Regions from separate parts of the Homo sapiens genome. Here region 1 is linked to region 2. Evidence: promoter capture Hi-C in human tissues and cell types (Jung and others, 2019). All regions are on one chromosome and are shown on one strand. The core of a region is centred on a gene start or on the middle of the fragment in contact, and the rest is flanking DNA. Distances in the headings are between cores, read along the strand shown.

Region 1 (3,495 bases), core at 818-3,317, 490 kb after region 2:
CAATGAGGGCAAAGGGCTGGTGTGGCAGCCTTTCTGGGTACCCACACTCGGTGGGTCCTGAGCTCTTGTCCAGCATCCAAGAAGATTGAAGTCACATGGACTGTTGAAAGATGGTGAAGGTAGAGAATTTTATTGACCAATGAAGATGGCTCTCAGAGGAGAGGGAGCTAGAGAAGGGACAGGAAAGGTATACTGGTAATCTTCCCAAAAATCAGGTTGTCTTTTCCCAAAGTCAGTTCATTTCCACCTCCACTGACTGAGTCTGGGGTCTTTATAGGCACAGGATGGGGAGTGTATGCTGATTGGTTTGTGAGTATGTAACAAAGGTTAAAGTAAAAACACCAGTCAAAGGTGGGCACAAAAGCATAGAAAACCAATTAGGAAAGGGTAGGTATATGTAAAATAGGTGAAGGGTGGGGATTAATCAGAGGAAAGCACACCAAACAGGAGGACAAGTTCTCAATCTAGTCCCAGGATTTAGCTTGTAGCTTGGATTTCAGGTTTAAACTGTCTTCAGCTTGGAGGTGAGGTTTCACCGGGTACCTGCCCCTATCTGCCTAGGCATTTGGCTGCCTCCTGTCACTATCAGGATGACCAATTATAAAGAAATTATGCTATAGGGAAGTAAAAGTCTTAATAAAAAGACTAGAATGATTTTGTTATCCCTTAGATAGCTCAAAGTTGCATTAACTCATGATGTTTCTTCTTTTTTCTTTTGGGTAATATTACTTCCTAGAACAACTACAAAGTAATATTACTTAAAAGAAAATGGACTGTGGCTCTCAGGTTTGCTTGGTCTATGTGGGCCTGGAAATTCTAGTAAATCTATTTGCTCAATAGGGTTTCCTATCTATTATTCATCATGGGTCTCTCCTATTTTGGAGAAATACTTAAAAATCATGGATATTTTCATGCTGTCAATATCTAGGATTCATTTGGCCTAAGAAAAGCTGAAAGCTGTGTAGTTTGACAAAAGACTTGCCAAGAAAGTTAAATATATCTAGTTCTCCTTTTCCCATGTTTGACATTTCCATGGAGGAAGGGAGACAAGGAAAGAAGTTGCAAATATATTAGCATTCTTTCTGTTTTTCTCTGCCTGATATACTCCATGGAATCAATCTTGTGTGTACATTTAGGGAAAAAGTCTTTACATGATTACAATAAGCCAGATCTCCCTTCTTCCTTTTTTGCCTCTTCACTCTCCCTCACTGAAAACCTCTGATTTAAAGGCAGGAAAGCTTTAAAAATGTACACACTTTGGGATTCAGCCCTGTTGCTGGCATGTGTCAATAGTTCATTCTTTTTATTACTGTGCAATATTCCATTGTATTGATATGCCATAATTTATTTATCCATGCACATACTGATTGACATTTGAGTTGTTTCAAGTTTGGGGCTATTACAAATAAAGCTGCTATGAATATCCATGTAAAAGTATTGGCGTGACATGTTTTCACTTATCTTGAGTAAATGCTCTGGAGTGGAGTGACTGGGTCATATGACAGGTGTATCTAACTTTTGAAGAAATGGTCAAACTGTTTCCCAAAGCGGCTGTACCATTTTACATTCCCACACCCATGTATGAAAATTTCAGTTGCTTCACCCTGCCAACACATGGTTTGGTCATCAACCTTTTACATTTTATTAATTCAAATAAGCATATATTACTCTCATTGTAGTTTTAGTTTTCATTTCCCTGATGACTACAAACATTGAAATTTTCATCTGCTTATTCACCATTCTTATACCTTCTACAAATTGTGTGAGTCCACTTACAAATTCTTGTGAAGAAAGTGGTAATGACTGAAAGCAAGTTAGTGATTGCCTTGGGACAAGGCAGAAGAAGGGATGAGTTGCAAGGGGCACAAGGAAACTTTTCAGAGTTATGGAAATTCTTGTTATCCTTATTAAGGTGAGGGTTACACAGACATATACAGATGTCACAGCAAATTAAATTATATACTTTAAATATATGCAGCTTATTGTATTTCAATTCAATTACACCTCAACTAAATTATAAAAAATCCAAAAACTTTATTAGAAGTAAACCAAAAGCAAAATTCTAAGCCTCCCAACCAACTGAACAGACTCCTCCTCACAGCCAAAGGCATTCTAAAGTTAATTTGAAAAACTAGTTCAGGCCATGATGGGAAATGAGGGTCTGACATGCCTCATTATACCCTTCTCCCTTTGGAATTCAAGCACAGTTGACCAACATTAACATGAAAACAGAGGCCTTAAGACTGATAGAACAGACTCTTTAAGACTGGTAAGAAATATTCCCTTCCACGGATTCTATCTGCATAATGGGAACCTCGCTGTCCATAAACTCTTATCTCAACCCAGACATTCCTTCCTATTGATTTTAGTCAATAACTTAACTCTTTAAACCAATTGCCAATTAGAAAATTCTTGAATCCACCTATGACCTGGAAGCCCTTGCTTCGAGTTGTCCTGCCTTTCTGGACTCAACCAATATACATCTTACATGTATTAATTGATGTCTCATATCTCCCTAAAATGTATAAAACCAAGCGGTAGCCCAATCACCCTGAGCACGTGTCAGGACCTCCTGAGGCTGTGTCACTGGTTCCAGGTGAGGTGTCAGAGCCTCAGCAACAGAAAATGGTTAATCACAGGTAGTAAGAAGAATTTACCAACGATGTTATTGGCAGTGAATCCATACAGGTCTGCAGCAACCTCAATTCTTGCTCCTCAGAAGAAAGAATTTGACTGAGGGGCATAAGGTAGAAGGAGAGACTGAGGCAAGTTTTAGAGTAGGAGTGAAAGTTTATTAAAAAGTTTAGAACAGGAACGAAAGTATACTTGAAAGAGGGCTGAGCAGGTGAGTTGAGAGAGTCAAGGGCCCTGTATGACCTTTGACTTGGGGTTTTATATGTTGGCATTCATCTGGGGTCATGTGTCCCTTCTCCCCTGATTCTTCCCTTTGGGTGGGCTGTCCACATGCACAGTGTCCTGCCAGCACTTGGGAGAGGAGCATGCACAGTGTTTTTAGTGAAACTATATGCATGCTCATTTGAGGCGTTCTTCCCTTACCAGCTGAATATCACTAGAAGGCCATACACCAGTTAAACTCTACCATTTTGCCTCTTAATGTGTGTGCTTGAGCCCACTTGCCTAACTCCTAAGATCTTATCAGGAAGCTGCTGATCCCTAGTTTCAGGTTTTTTGTGTTAATTGGGAGACTGCCTTTTCCTGGTGTTGGCTGTGGCCAATTATCTTAGAGAGACAGGTAACAACCACTTCACCATCACTTGATGGTCACCTGACATTTCTGGTGGGGGGTAGGGGGGCTCCCTCTCCTGCGGTGCTCATGTCTGACTAGCTACCTACTCTAACAATAAAATATATAAAACTCATGTTTGGTTGCTAAACTGAAGGAAGTCACAATTTATTACCGCAGAATATATTTCTTGGATGTATTTTGAAATGGCTGCCACAGGGCCAGCAGACTGAAGTGGCCCTGCAAAGCAG
Region 2 (3,511 bases), core at 913-3,412:
ACAAATTTCATGGGCTGTGATTAAATCTAAGCTATTTGTCAAGGCCTCCAAACCCCTGAATGTGTAACAGATTGAGCTAATTCATTGGTGTTTGTAAATTGAGTTTGGAATTAAGCTCCTTTGTAAATACACCGTTTGAGATGCATTTCATCTTGCAACTCTTTATCGTGGTTTTCTCAAACTTAAAATGTATAAACGAATTCCATCTTACGTGAATTTGCTGATCAATTTCTAACAGCTCCACATTTCTAAATTAATTTAATCCACACACTCATCTTTCTAATGATTTATTCTTCTCCCTGCTTAATATATAAATGCCGAATGAGATATCAGAAGGAGGATAATAGTGGAGAGTATATAACCTGGATCTTACTCAGTTTCAGAAGTATTTCAGAGAAGCACGCACAGTGCTTATTCACATTGACATCTGGATTTTAATATTGTCAGTTTTTGGGGGGTTAAATTCCTTATTACAAATTTATGTCAAGGATCTTCTCACGCATCATCACAAAAAATAATTTTAACTGTTGTTACTATATTAATTTTTTGACGTTTGGAGATAATATTAGCCCTGGAATAGTATTTTTGAACTCATAAATTTGCATTATTTGACTTGATCCTTCGTTCCTTGACTATGCAGCGTGAGTCTGAGACACGTGTATGTTTACTGAACACAAGAGGTGGGCCCCAGACACATGAAAGATGTGTCTCACTCACCTCTTCCTCCTACCTGAGATTTCATTCAACTTTCCCACTGAACAATGATTTTGCACCCCCAGAGGGGTTTTCTATGATACAGTTTATAAGAATTTAATGATTGTTTCATTATGTGAATTGTCAGGTATAAGGTGGAGATATTACACTCCACGTTCCTTCTGTAGAGTGACATCTGCTGGGCTGTGCCCCACAGTGATTTTAAGCAAGTGCCTGCTTGTTTTATGGGGATCAAAGCTCATTTCTCCCGATGTTTAAACATCTAGTTTATTGTGGTCCGGAGAAGTAATTTTCACTTAAACATCAAAGTCAGTTCCAGAGTTTAACGAGTGTACCTGAAAGTAATGCTGGAAAAATACCTCTGATGTATTTCTGTAGATGTGTGGTTATGGCAATCTGTTGGCATAACTCAGAACAGCCTCTCCACATAGAATTGTCAAATAATTTCTTCGTGTAATTATGTTTGGGAGTATGGTTGGGGACAACGTACTGGATATGAGTCAACGTGGAGGGGTCAACAGAATTACTGCTTTCAGGGCATTAAGGAAACTCAATAGGAAACAATACCCATTAAAAGGATACACTTGTGCAACAAGATTGTCGTTTATCTTGACCTGTTTTAGAAAACACGCAACAGAGGCCCGGCGCGGTGGCTCTCGGCACTTTGGGCGGCTGAGGCGGGCGGACCATTAGGTCAAGAGATCCAGACCATCCTGGCCCTGTCTCTACTAAAAATACAAAAATTAGCTGGGCGTGGTGGTGGGAGCCTGTAGTCCCAGCTATTCAGGAGGCTGAGGCAGGAGAATCGCTTGAACCCGGGAGGCGGAGGTTGCAGTGAGCCATGATCACACCACTGCACTGCACTCCAGCCTGGCGACAGAGTGAGATTCCCTCTCCAAAAACAAAACAAAAAACAAAAAACAAAAAACAAAAAAAAAACGCAGCAGAATAAGGACAAAACTCACGTCCTTTTAAAAACGCATCTCTTTGCCTTAAAAGGCTGCAGTGATCCTTCCCTGGCAAAAATAAAAAACCACAACTGCTTTGCACTTTGATATTTACGGCCAGGCAAAGCCTGTGTAAGTCTTCGAGAGCCGCCGGCAACAAAAACCGTGGAGCGCACCCAGCAAGTTGCTCACTCCGCCGCGGACTGCGAAAGGAGCAGGGTTGCGGAGCTAGGGCTCCAGCCTGCGGCCGCGCATTCTTGCGTCTGGCCAGCCGCGAGCTCTAAGGGTCGGCCCCGCCCGGTCCGCCCCCGCGGCTCCCTGCCAGGCTCTCGCGGGCGCGCTCGGGGTGGGGCCTCGCGGCTGGCGGAGATGCGGCCGGGGCTGCGCGGTGGTGATGCGAGCCTGCAGGGCGGCGCGCCGGGGCAGCCGGAGCCGCGCGCCGCGGCGCTGTAATCGGACACCAAGAGCGCTCGCCCCCGGCCTCCGGCCACTTTCCATTCACTCCGAGGTGCTTGATTGAGCGACGCGGAGAAGAGCTCCGGGTGCCGCGGCACTGCAGCGCTGAGATTCCTTTACAAAGAAACTCAGAGGACCGGGAAGAAAGAATTTCACCTTTGCGACGTGCTAGAAAATAAGGTCGTCTGGGAAAAGGACTGGAGACACAAGCGCATCCAACCCCGGTAGCAAACTGATGACTTTTCCGTGCTGATTTCTTTCAACCTCGGTAAGCTAAATTGGTCATTTTCCGCATTACAGATTTAGCAAAGTATAACTTTTTTGGCCTGTATATTGATTTTTCATACATTGGTATGCTCAAGCCTGGACATTTTCTTAAGAACACACGCGGTTTGTCAGGGAAGCTTTCCCCTTGCTGAGAGCCCTGCTCGAGTTGTTTCTTTAGGCGGTGACACCTGCGGAGAGTTTCAAGTTGAGTATTACAGTGCCTTCAAAGGCAAAATTGCTCCAGAGGAGATAAGAGAATTCTTTTCTTAATGTGTTGTTAGTTTGCGATCAGCAGAAGTGAAAACACCAAGAGGAACGTCTGTGTCTGAGTTAAAGGGAAGAAGTTGTAAGATACTGTTGGGGAGGCGGGGGTGTATTTAAGACACTTGGCTTTCAGTCTTTCACTCCTCATCACTAGGTGGGATGTAAATCAAATTGCCCTGTAGACTATCTTCGTTTCACCTGCCATTGTATCACCAGTATTCTTTGCAATTGGTTGTATATGTACTTTTGGGAGAAACATATAAGGTAAGATACCAATATGTAAAAAAAATGTGTAAATAATATCAACTTGCTCAGTAAACATAACAAAGGTTAGGCATATTAATAGTTTTTTTCTTTTGGCTTTAACTATGAAGTCAACAGAACCAAGGGGTAAATTACTGAGGGAAAGTCACCCATAAAATCAGTTTCTTTCTAAGTTAATTTAGGGATGACAGGGTGAAGAGGTTGTGGAAGCAGGAAGAAACTGTTTCTTTTGAAAATTACCAACACAAACATCTCTAGAGTTTCCTCCATCTGTGTGGTAAAAGAAGCGTACAATTTCATTTCTAACTCTCATAACATATGCACCACCTAGGAAATCTACTTACAATTTTTGTTTAAAATTGCATATTCCATTTAATTCTTTTTATTCTGTATTAATGAAGCTGTCTTTTTCAGTTGTTAGTGGTTCTTACAAAGAATTTAATAATTTTGACTATGAAATTTTAATTTGAAAAGCCAAATAATGAAGATCAGCATTGTTGTAACCTGTAAAAATAAATTTCTTTACTGGACTCTTGGGTCACTTTATTGTGTAATTATGGTAGAAGCAAAATGATTGTGTTTCTTTAATGGTCCTGAGT

The links. Contacts are between HindIII fragments. The study calls those that stand out against the background at their distance.
Region 1: a contact is called between a fragment that was not itself captured here and the fragment with the promoter of SEMA3C in region 2, in 1 of the 25 tissues and cell types used here (H1 embryonic stem cells).

What each region holds. Positions count from the first base shown.
Region 1 is chr7:80,430,562-80,434,056 of GRCh38, reverse strand. No RefSeq gene overlaps it. Among named protein-coding and RNA genes, the nearest start is that of GNAT3, 80 kb to the left of the region's middle. The HindIII fragment of the contact is 5,075 bases long and covers 1-3,495 here.
Region 2 is chr7:80,917,702-80,921,212 of GRCh38, reverse strand. SEMA3C (semaphorin 3C) reads left to right here and starts at 2,162. Exons shown (of 18, transcript NM_006379.5): 1 at 2,162-2,385. RefSeq lists a silencer at 1,896-2,025 and an enhancer at 2,573-2,642. The HindIII fragment of the contact is 9,014 bases long and covers 1-3,511 here.